2 separate regions of the Homo sapiens genome follow, and region 2 is linked to region 1. The links are contacts of gene promoters, found by promoter capture Hi-C in blood cells and fetal thymus (Javierre and others, 2016). All regions are on one chromosome and are shown on one strand. The core of a region is centred on a gene start or on the middle of the fragment in contact, and the rest is flanking DNA. Distances in the headings are between cores, read along the strand shown.

Region 1 (4,549 bases), core at 1,638-4,137:
AATATACATGGTTCTCTCTTACTCTTGGCCCTATCATCCCTCTCATGGCATCAACCAAGATATTAGAGTTCTTTTAGTCCACAAAAGAACTACATCCTCTACGTCTACATCCTCTCATTACCCCATCCAGGCGGCTAGATGGACCTGGTCATCTGACCACCCACTCTCCTGCATTGCAAAAGTCTACTTTGAATTGTATAAGCTAAGCATTGACCTAAGTCATTCTCTCTGCATTTCTACAGTAATAACCCTACCCTGGGGGCAGTAAATATAAAAAGTCCCTACTGCTGCCCAATTTGTGTGGAAAGACCAACAGTGAAATAAATTGCAGAAGAAAAATAACACCACCATGAGGACTTCAAGTCCTCATCATGACATGTACATTTACACAATTGAAATCATAGTGTATAATTTGAGTTGCACACTGAATGTTGTACTTAATCTGAGTAAATGCTCATGAGTATATGAATTGTTAAATATAAAAGTATGATAATTTATATTTTCAAGTTGTTCAAACAACCAAGTGTTCAATATGTATACATTTATATTTACTCATTTAATCAAAACAGCTCTACGACACTGCTACTATTATTATCCTAATTTCTGTTTTATAGATGAAGAAATTCAGGTACACAGGGGTTAAGTAATTATGGGAGCAGCGAGGGGGTGGGTGAGAGGCAGGAGAACTGAATGGTGAGACATTGGAAGATGAGGAAGACTTTCTACTCTTTTGTACCTTTTATCCTGGGAATGCTTGACCTCTTATTAAAATAAATAAATATGTAAAAGGATGTGTCGGCCGGGTGCAGTGGCTCACGCCTGTAATCCCAGCACTTCGGGAGGCCGAGGCGGGCAGATCACTTGAGGTCAGGAGATCCAGACCAGCCTGTGCGACATGGCGAAACCCTGTCTCTACTAAAAATACAGCAATTAGCTGGGCTTGTTGGTGCGTGCCTGTAATCCCAGGTACTTGGGAGGCTAAGTCAGGAGCATCGTTTGAGCCCAGGAGGCGGAAGTTGCCATGAGCCAAGATCAAGCTACTGCGCTCCAGCCTGGGCAGCAGAGTGAGACTCCATCTCAAAAAAACAAACAAACAAACAAAAAAGGACACGTCTGCCATAGACATTGCTGTATTATACTCACTCAGAGGTGCCCATCTGTGGATGTGGTATGGTGGAAGAAACAGTGGACCAGGAGGGAGAACATCTGGGCCATGGGTCCAATCTACCACGGATGTGTCATCTCTGGGCCTTGGTATCATCTTCTGTAAAACACAAGTGCTTGGCAGTGATGGTCATGATAGGATTAGATTATATCAGTGTTTCCTAATGTAACCCAAGTTACCTGAGAAAGTTTAAAATATATAGCTTCTCAAGCTCTCATAAGCACACATTCTGATTTATCATAAGGACTGGAATACAGTTTGGGAATCTGTATTTTTCAAAAGGCCCCCTTTTAGGCAATTCTGATATAAAACCCTGGACCAGATGATGTTTCAGGGGTTCCTCCCAGCTCTAAAATTCCATATCCTGTGAAGTATTGAGTATCATATCAGATCCAAGTAACTCATTCATCATTTACCCTCCCGACTCCCACCCTGTCCTTAGTTCTTCTAGCCCTTCTTAGAGGCTGTCTTACTTCTAGCCCATCTTACAAAGAAAGGGAAATGAAAAGGGAAGGACTAGATCCCTTGATCCAGATCCTTACTCCCATCCCTCCTTCCATTCCCACCCCACCCCTATCTTCTGTCCTCTACCCCTACTAGATGTTGTATTCCAGCTCCAGGGCTGCCATGGGCACTCCAAGAGGAGAACAAGGTACCAAAGTCCAAGAAAGAGACAGAAATTTTGACCCATCTCAAAATTTACACATGGACCTGAACCATCTGTAGATTTTAGACTCCTTGCAAAGGCATTTTATTCCTTGGGATGACACTCTGGGTATTTTGTATTCTAATTTCTCCTTCTGCCAGATGGTCTATAAGGTTCGAACTCTTAAAAAAAGTGCGTTACATTCCCATTTTAATGTAGCATTTTGGATATTTACTGATCTCCTTCCTGCTTTCTTCTTTCTTTTCTTCTTTCCTTTCTTCCTCCCCTTCTCCTCTTCTTCCTCCTCCTGCATCTCTTCCTTCCCCGGTCAAGGAAAGGCCTGGGGCTGGAGTGGGGGTGGGTAGAGGGTTCTGATCTCAGTTCTTCCCACCTATTTAGAGAGAAGTGCGAATATTCAGCTCACCTTGCCGCCGAGACAGACCATGCCTTACCAGCTTCTTGCAGCTTTACGATGAGTCTCTCTCGGTTTCACAGGGCAGTTATTACTCATGACTGATGCTCACCGGCCAAGCCTAAACGTGTGGCACACTCCCCATACCACACACAGACACAAACATTTGCCTGGCTCACATGAACCGGGATGAGGATGCCATTTCCACCTGGGAGGAGCCACGTGACCAGGCGTTCTCAGTAGCCTCCACTGGTGTCAGGGGGAACAGAGCATTCGGCTGTTGCCGGTCTGCCTTTCCAGGACTAGCATCCATGGAAGATGGGGTCCATCGCCAACCTGCGAAGATGTGGAAGGCAAGCCCCTCATTCCAGAGCCAGAAGCTGTGGCCGGCTTCCCCTTCCCATCTCCAACCTGGGCTAATGACAGCTGGCAGATGCTTGGCCATGATGACAGGTCTTTTCGAAGATGTATTTTTACCCTCTGGATAAACAGCAGTTGGCAGGAGTGGGGCGTTTTTATGAGTTGAGGTACTCAGGACTGGAAAATAAACAGCCAGTTAATGAGCCGGTCTTATGGAAACTTGCATAAATAATAACAAAGAAAACATCCCGTCCCTCATGCCTGGGTGAGGGGATATAAAAGCTGCCATCCAGATGGCTGGCCACCGTCAGTCGTGGGGAACTCCGGCTGCGTTACCGACCTGCGAGCTGACGGGCCCGGACCATGGGGTGCTGCCCGGGGGACTGCTTCACCTGCTGCACCCAGGAGCAAAACTGCTGTGAAGAGTGCTGCTGTCAGCCGGGCTGCTGTGGCTGCTGCGGCTCCTGCTGTGGCTGTGGGGGCTCTGGCTGCGGGGGCTCTGGCTGCGGGGGCAGCTGCTGCGGATCGTCTTGCTGTGGATCTGGCTGCGGAGGCTGTGGAGGCTGCGGAGGCTGCGGGGGTGGCTGCTGTGGATCCAGTTGCTGTGGGTCCAGTTGCTGCGGCTCCGGGTGCTGTGGGCCTGTGTGCTGCCAGCCCACACCTATATGCGACACAAAATGAAGACCTTTCCCTCCACCACTGATGCAGTCCCACCGAAAGCCTCCATCTGCTCCAGGGGGACAGCCCCTCGTGTCCAGAACCTTCCATACCCCCAAGACAGTGTCTTGTCTTTCTGTGATTTGTAGAGGAGGGCTTGTTCTCCAACACCTTCTCTGGTATTTCAAGGCACCGAGAACAAGAGCCATACTCTGATGAAACATTAAAACTCGGTCACAACTAAGTGATCCCAAGCTCAAGGGTGAATCCCCAATACTTTACTTATTCACATGAAGTTCAATGTCTTGTACTATAAGACATCCTCTTCTTCAAGGTGTCTTTGGGACTGATCCTCCGCCCTGGCTTTCTGCAGCTTTGAGATGCAAAAAAGGTCCATCTTCTTTGTGAGCCTCTTAATAAATTTGAGCATGCTGGCATAACCTAATTAGTTCTCTTGCCTCTTCCTTGACCTCCCTGCTGAGGACTGGGTTAGAAAAATTCACTCTGGCATCTGCCTTAGGGTTTTTGAATTGTGGTTTTTGGATCACCTGCGTCGGAATCACCTGGGAGCTTGTTAAAACTGGAGACTCTGAGGCCCTCCCTAAGACATACAGAATCAGAATCCACCAAAGTGTGGCCTGGGAATCTGTGTTTTTAACAAGAACCTTAGATAATTCTTATGCACTGAAGTTTGAGAACCATAGATCTAGACGGAAGCTTCCGTGTGCTGCATGAGATTCACTTGAAAAGCTTTTAAAAATATAGATCATTGGGTTTTATCACTGGAGATTTTACCCGTTAGCTCTAGGGCCTAGAGTCCCTAGGGACCTGCATTTTTAAAAGCTCCTGGGTGAATGCTGATGCTGGCCACATTTAATGGTGATTGAGGGGCATGGCTTTCTTCTGCACTACAGCTCTCCTAGGATGGTTCTGCAGGAGGGCTTCAGGCTTGATCAGAACTTTCTGGCAAAGTCGGAAAGGAGGCTTTGGTAAAACAAGATTGGTTCTGAATGGAAAGGATTTCTAATGGCAAAGCTAGTGAATTCACAGTTTCTGAGGATGTTCTGCGCAGTACAGTTCCTTCTTCCAGCCTCATGCTTGGTCCAGTCTCACTTTTCTGTGCTAGGTTGTCTTACCTGGAACCAGCTACGTTTCTTCTGCCTGAGTTCTAAGGAGGAGGGAGTGAGTATACCTCTGCTAGGTAGGGCCCAGCCAAGGTGTGTGGGTCCACCTGGGAGGTTAAAACTCAAAAGACAGTTGATCAACCTTTTGTTGAAAGTGACCTTAAGCTGTGTGTGTAATAAAACTA
Region 2 (5,230 bases), core at 606-3,105, 210 kb after region 1:
TTATAACTGAGACAGTGAAAAAGATCTGACCTAATTGACTCCATCTTGCTTCTAACCTCCAAACTGTTCTTGTTCAATCCTGGGCACAGGCTGAACAGACGTTGAGAGGAACATAGTTTATAGTTTACCTTTGAAACAAAGATTATAACAGTTCATTCTCAAACTAAATCTTACTGCCTGTGGACTAGACCACCAAAACCACAAAATTAGAAGTTACAGTAATCTCACTAAATTCAAGATGTGACTATTTTTATTAAACCAATATCAATGTCTTATTTATTAAAGATTATACAAGCAAAGATCATTCTATTACAGTTTTGTAACTCCATGGCAAATTTTGACACCTTATGGTATTTGACAGGGATAAGCATGAAATTGCTTGATTAATAAATGCAAACAAAAATGCATGCTGGCAATTTTTAAGACATGTCTAATATTACTTTACCAATAATTTTAAAGCTAGCTTATTTATTAAAGATTTTACTTGTTACATAAACTTCAGAAAGCATTCAACTAGTCTTTTCTTTTTTCCTGATAAAGTATTAGATTCAAGTGCTTTTTATCTTAAGCCAATTAATTAGAACTCTTTTATATATTTTCAGTAGCGAGAAATTGTGTACACATCACATAAATATATAGACATAGTAGGCATGCTGATAGAAGTACATCGTATAGATACTTAAGGAGCTTTTTTCCCCTATCTTAGGCTTTCAAATTCTTAATAACCTGTTTTACTCCCCTAGGGAGTTGTCAGCTAAATAGCCTTAAGTTTGCATGTTAAAGGAAACAACTCAGGCAAAAATCAAATAGCAAAATTATATCATAAGGTACAGAGAGAAAAAGTCTGGTGGTGCTAGAGGGAAGTCAAAATGGATTTAATTGCCAATTAAACATAAAATTATAAAAATTATAAAGGCCTTTTAAATAGATACACACACACACACACACACACACACAAACACACACACAGAAATCCTATAGCTTTTACTTCAGAACTTTAGCCATGAGACAAATACAAATTCACCAGGTTGCAAACAAAAAGCCTGTTGTATCCAAACAGTGGTTTTGATCTTAATAGAAAAATAACAGCAGATTTAAAGCAGGCAGAAAAGAAAATAGAGAAAAAAGAGAACTTAGGAACTCTGTAGTTTGTAGGTTGACCTTAAGGCTCTTCTTTTCTTTCTTTTTCTTTTCTTTCTTTCTTTCTTTCTTTCTTTCTTTCTTTCTTTCTTTCTTTCTTTCTTTCTTTCTTGCTTGCTTGCTTTCTTGCTTGCTTGCTTTCTTTCCTTCTTTTCTTTCTCTTCTAAAAAAAAATGAAATACACATGCAGGAGAACGTGCAGGTTTGTTACATAGGTATATGTGTGCCTTGGTGGTTTGCTGCACCTATTGACCCATCCTCTAAATTCCCTCCTCTCATTCCCCACCCCCCAACAGCCCCTGATATGTGTTGCTCTCCTCTCTGTGTCCATGTGTTCTCAAAGTTCAACTCCCATATATGAGTGAGAACATGTTGTATTTGGTATTCTGTTTCTGTGTTAGTTTGCTGAGGATGATGGTTTCCAGCTTCATCCATGTCCCTACAAAGGACATGATCTCACTCCGTTTTATGGCTGCATCGTATTCCATGGTGTATATGTACCACATTTTCTTTATCAAGTCTATAATTGATGGGCGTTTGGGTTAGTTCCATGTCTTTGCTCTTGTAAATAGTGCTGCAATAAACATACATGTGCCTGTGTCTTTATAGTAGAATGATTTGTATTCCTTTGGGTATATAACAAGTAATGGGATTGCTGGATCAAATGGTATTTCTGATTCTAGATCCTTGAGGAATCACCATACTGTCTTCCACAATGGTTGAACTAATTTACATGGGCCCTTTCTTTCTTAATGTAAATATGCACAAAGACCATATTACTTCCATTTTACTTAAACTCTGGCAAGTACAGGTGCCATAAAACCTATGGAGTGCTTGAAAGGGAATCATTCTCTTTGCTTTCTCCTCATTCTTAGATTATTTGTTTCCCAGTTTTCTTCTTAAAAAGAGGAACTGAGCTGAGGCCTAGAGGTTTTCTGTGGTGGATCAATATGTGCCATTTGTGGGCAGGACTCCACAGTGGGTCACCACTGAAAACAACAGTTCAGTTCCTCATGCAAATGCACACAGACAAGCTGAATTGAGCTTAATTTGGGGAGAAAAAGCAACAGAGAAGATCCTTTAGAATGCATTTGTGAACTAGAATTAGGATCTTTAAACGACAAATTCCTAGAAGGAAAACAAAACAACAGCCAAGACCACTTTTTGTAAACCTTGCTCAGCCACCCCTTAACTTTGTAGCTCTCATCTACCACTATACACAACAAGGTCAAAGCCAAAGAGGTCAGGTCATGCAATACAGGAAAATAGAGGTTTAGAGTTAAGAAGAATCTACCCATGACTCTTGAAACTCCACAAAGAAAACAAAACACCCCAAAAGGGGTGAGTGGCAACCTTTGTTCTGAATTCTTTAAGGGGGTTCAAGTCATTAGAAGCCTTCTCTAGACTTTTTGGTACTGCATATGGCAAAGGGGGAGGAGGTATATGGTGCAAGAAAAGTAAACGAAAGAACATTCGTGTTTTAAGACAGGAAGCAAACACAGAAACCAAGTGCATGGGTTTTTGGTTCTTTTTGTTTGTTTTCTTCTTTTGCAGCTGCAATGAATTTTAGCCAAATTAGAGAGGTTTTGTTACCCGTAATTTTGAATTCTCACTTGGATTTGACCAAGTCAGGTAGAGTTGGTCAAGTCTGATGGGAGAAAGACCAAAACAAACAACAAAATCTCCAACCATAGGATTACCAAGCACTCTAATGATAAGGAGAAATTAAGAGCAGCTAGCTGGTTGTTAAACTTTAGCCCAGACAAAGCCCCAGTTCAGCTACTTACCTAGGGATGGGTCTCAGGCTGAAGGCTGCTTTCTACCACCCTAGAAGCAGGAAAAAAACTCAAACTGGTCTTCCCTGCTGGGAGTGAGCTCAAACTCTACATGCCTTTCATCATCATGGAAGCAGGAAATCTTGCCTTCCTTGTAAAGGAAGTAAAAGTAAATCTTGCCTTCCTTATAAGGAAGGCAAGTAAGCAAGTAAAACTCCAAAAACAAAAATAGGTGGGGCAGTTGTACAGCAAAATGAACTTTAGTTCTTCACCAAATTTGGGGAGATCAGGGATTCTTTGGGGAGGGTGCTCCCAGACCTCAGCAAATTGTCCTATTGATTTGAGCCATAAAGTTAGCTCATGCTATTACCAGGCACCAACAGGATATTCGTCAAAGGTCAAGGGCATCTCCACTCAGAATCCTTTCACAGTTACCAAAATGTTAACCCAGAAAATCTGAGACAGGTCTCAGTTAATTGAGAAAGTTTATTTTGCTAAGGTTGAGGATGCTCCGGTGACACAGCCTCAGGAAGTCCTGATGACATGTGTGTAAGGTGGTCAGATAACACTTTTGTTTTATACATTTTAGGGAGACATGAGATATCAATCAACATATGTAAGATGAACACGGATTTGGTCCAGAAAAGGCAAGACAACTCGAAGCAAAGGCGGGACAACTCGAAGCTGGGAGGGGGCTTCCAGATCATAGGTATATAAGAGACAAATGGTTGCCTTCTTTTGAGTTTCTGATTAGCCTTTCCCAAGGAGGCAATCAGTGCATTTATCTCAGTGAGCAGAGGGGTGACTTTGAATAGAATGAGAGGCAAGTTTGTCCTAAGCAGTTCCGAGTTTGCCTTTTCCCTTTAGCTTAGTGATTTGGGGGCCCCAATATTTATTTTACTTTCACAGCCTCCTAACCTTATTTATCCTGCCTCATGTTTAAGAAGGCATCATAACTCTATGACTGAGATCTGGACAACATTTTTCTTAAGGCATCTGAAAAAATATGAAGCTTATTTTTCATATTTGAACATATCTGAACAAATCATCTTAAACTTGATTGGCTCAATAGCTTAAGGCCATTTCAGAGCTGATAATAGTCAAATAAAAGTAAAAACATCAAGAGCAGGTGCTCCTACTAGAATGCCAAGTTATAGTCACTTACCATATTCTTTCAGATTCAAATGAAGGCACCTCTCTTGGAAATTCTAATTAGGATATGCACCCCAGCTGCGACCTACTCAAGACTGAACTAATTCCAATAAAATAATTCTTAAAAAGAAAAGCGAGCCTTGAAATTTTCATCCTTTCTGGGTTTATATATATTAAAATGTTAAGTGTGGAGTTGTTTAAATTATAATGTAAACCCGTAGAGACCACAGTCAGCAATATACCATGCTATCCAGATGAACTACAGCTCAATATGCTTTTTTGTCTCAGCAGAACTCACTGGGAAATAAAGCCCACTTTTTGATTATAAATTCCAAAATGTTGTTATTGAGTAAAATGAATTCAGTACATGAAATTCTTTATAGAAGATTTCCCTTCTTTCATTGGTGTCTAATTTTCAGAAATTTGGTTTTATCTTTTTTGTCAAAACAGGGACGATAGTATTATGAGATATAATGTGTTAAAGATAAAATGTGTTTCAAGAGCTAAGGTATGAATTAAAACTGTCTTAATTTAGGATATTAAGACACATGTGCACACACACACACACACATACACACACATATACACACAGCACTTCTATTCCAATACCGTAAATTATCTATATTCGATATAGCATGTATTTTCAAAGTGATTTCAACACGGGTTGCTTTTCCTGCGTCTTTGTGTAAAATATAATTGTCAGGGAATCAGTAAAATAATTATGAAAGCAATAGAGAATGATACCAATGAATTCTTATGTACAGAAATTTTATTAAAAAGCAGAGATGCAACAAAGCATAAGAAATTCACACTAGGAGAAACACAGAATATAACTGGGCGGCTGGATCTGAGGGTGCAACCTCAGTGACAAAACTGGTCCTGCAGATAATGTCTGCCTCACTGAGAAGAAGATCTGTACCTCAAAGTGATAAAGAAAATGAGGAAATTAGAGGATTGGAATAATTTCTAGCTAGTGGATTACAAATTAATTCACATTTGGTGCCACCACCGGAAGAAAAAGAAAGCAAGGGAGGGAGTTTAAAATGAATCAGAATGTTCTCAAAGAGTCAGTGAAATGGTGATGGGCTCATTGGAAACATGAGTTCCATTCTATTGAATGACATCAACCCCACTTCCTGTATCCTAATGGTCAGCACAGTAGA

What was found. Contacts are between HindIII fragments. The CHiCAGO score rates a contact against its expected background, and 5 or more counts as called.
Region 2: a contact is called between a fragment that was not itself captured here and the fragment with the promoter of KRTAP17-1 in region 1, in 3 of 17 cell types (non-activated CD4 T cells, total CD4 T cells and naive B cells). The highest score is 5.7, in non-activated CD4 T cells.

What each region holds. Positions count from the first base shown.
Region 1 is chr17:41,314,048-41,318,596 of GRCh38, reverse strand. KRTAP17-1 (keratin associated protein 17-1) reads left to right here and starts at 2,887. Exons shown (of 1, transcript NM_031964.2): 1 at 2,887-3,685. The coding sequence starts at 2,947. The coding sequence ends at 3,264. The HindIII fragment of the contact is 4,540 bases long and covers 1-3,959 here.
Region 2 is chr17:41,106,077-41,111,306 of GRCh38, reverse strand. LOC124904002 (a long non-coding RNA gene) reads right to left here and starts at 3,075. Exons shown (of 2, transcript XR_007065754.1): 1 at 2,928-3,075; 2 at 1-1,303. KRTAP4-9 (keratin associated protein 4-9) reads right to left here. Exons shown (of 1, transcript NM_001146041.1): 1 at 4,819-5,230. The HindIII fragment of the contact is 4,149 bases long and covers 1-3,929 here.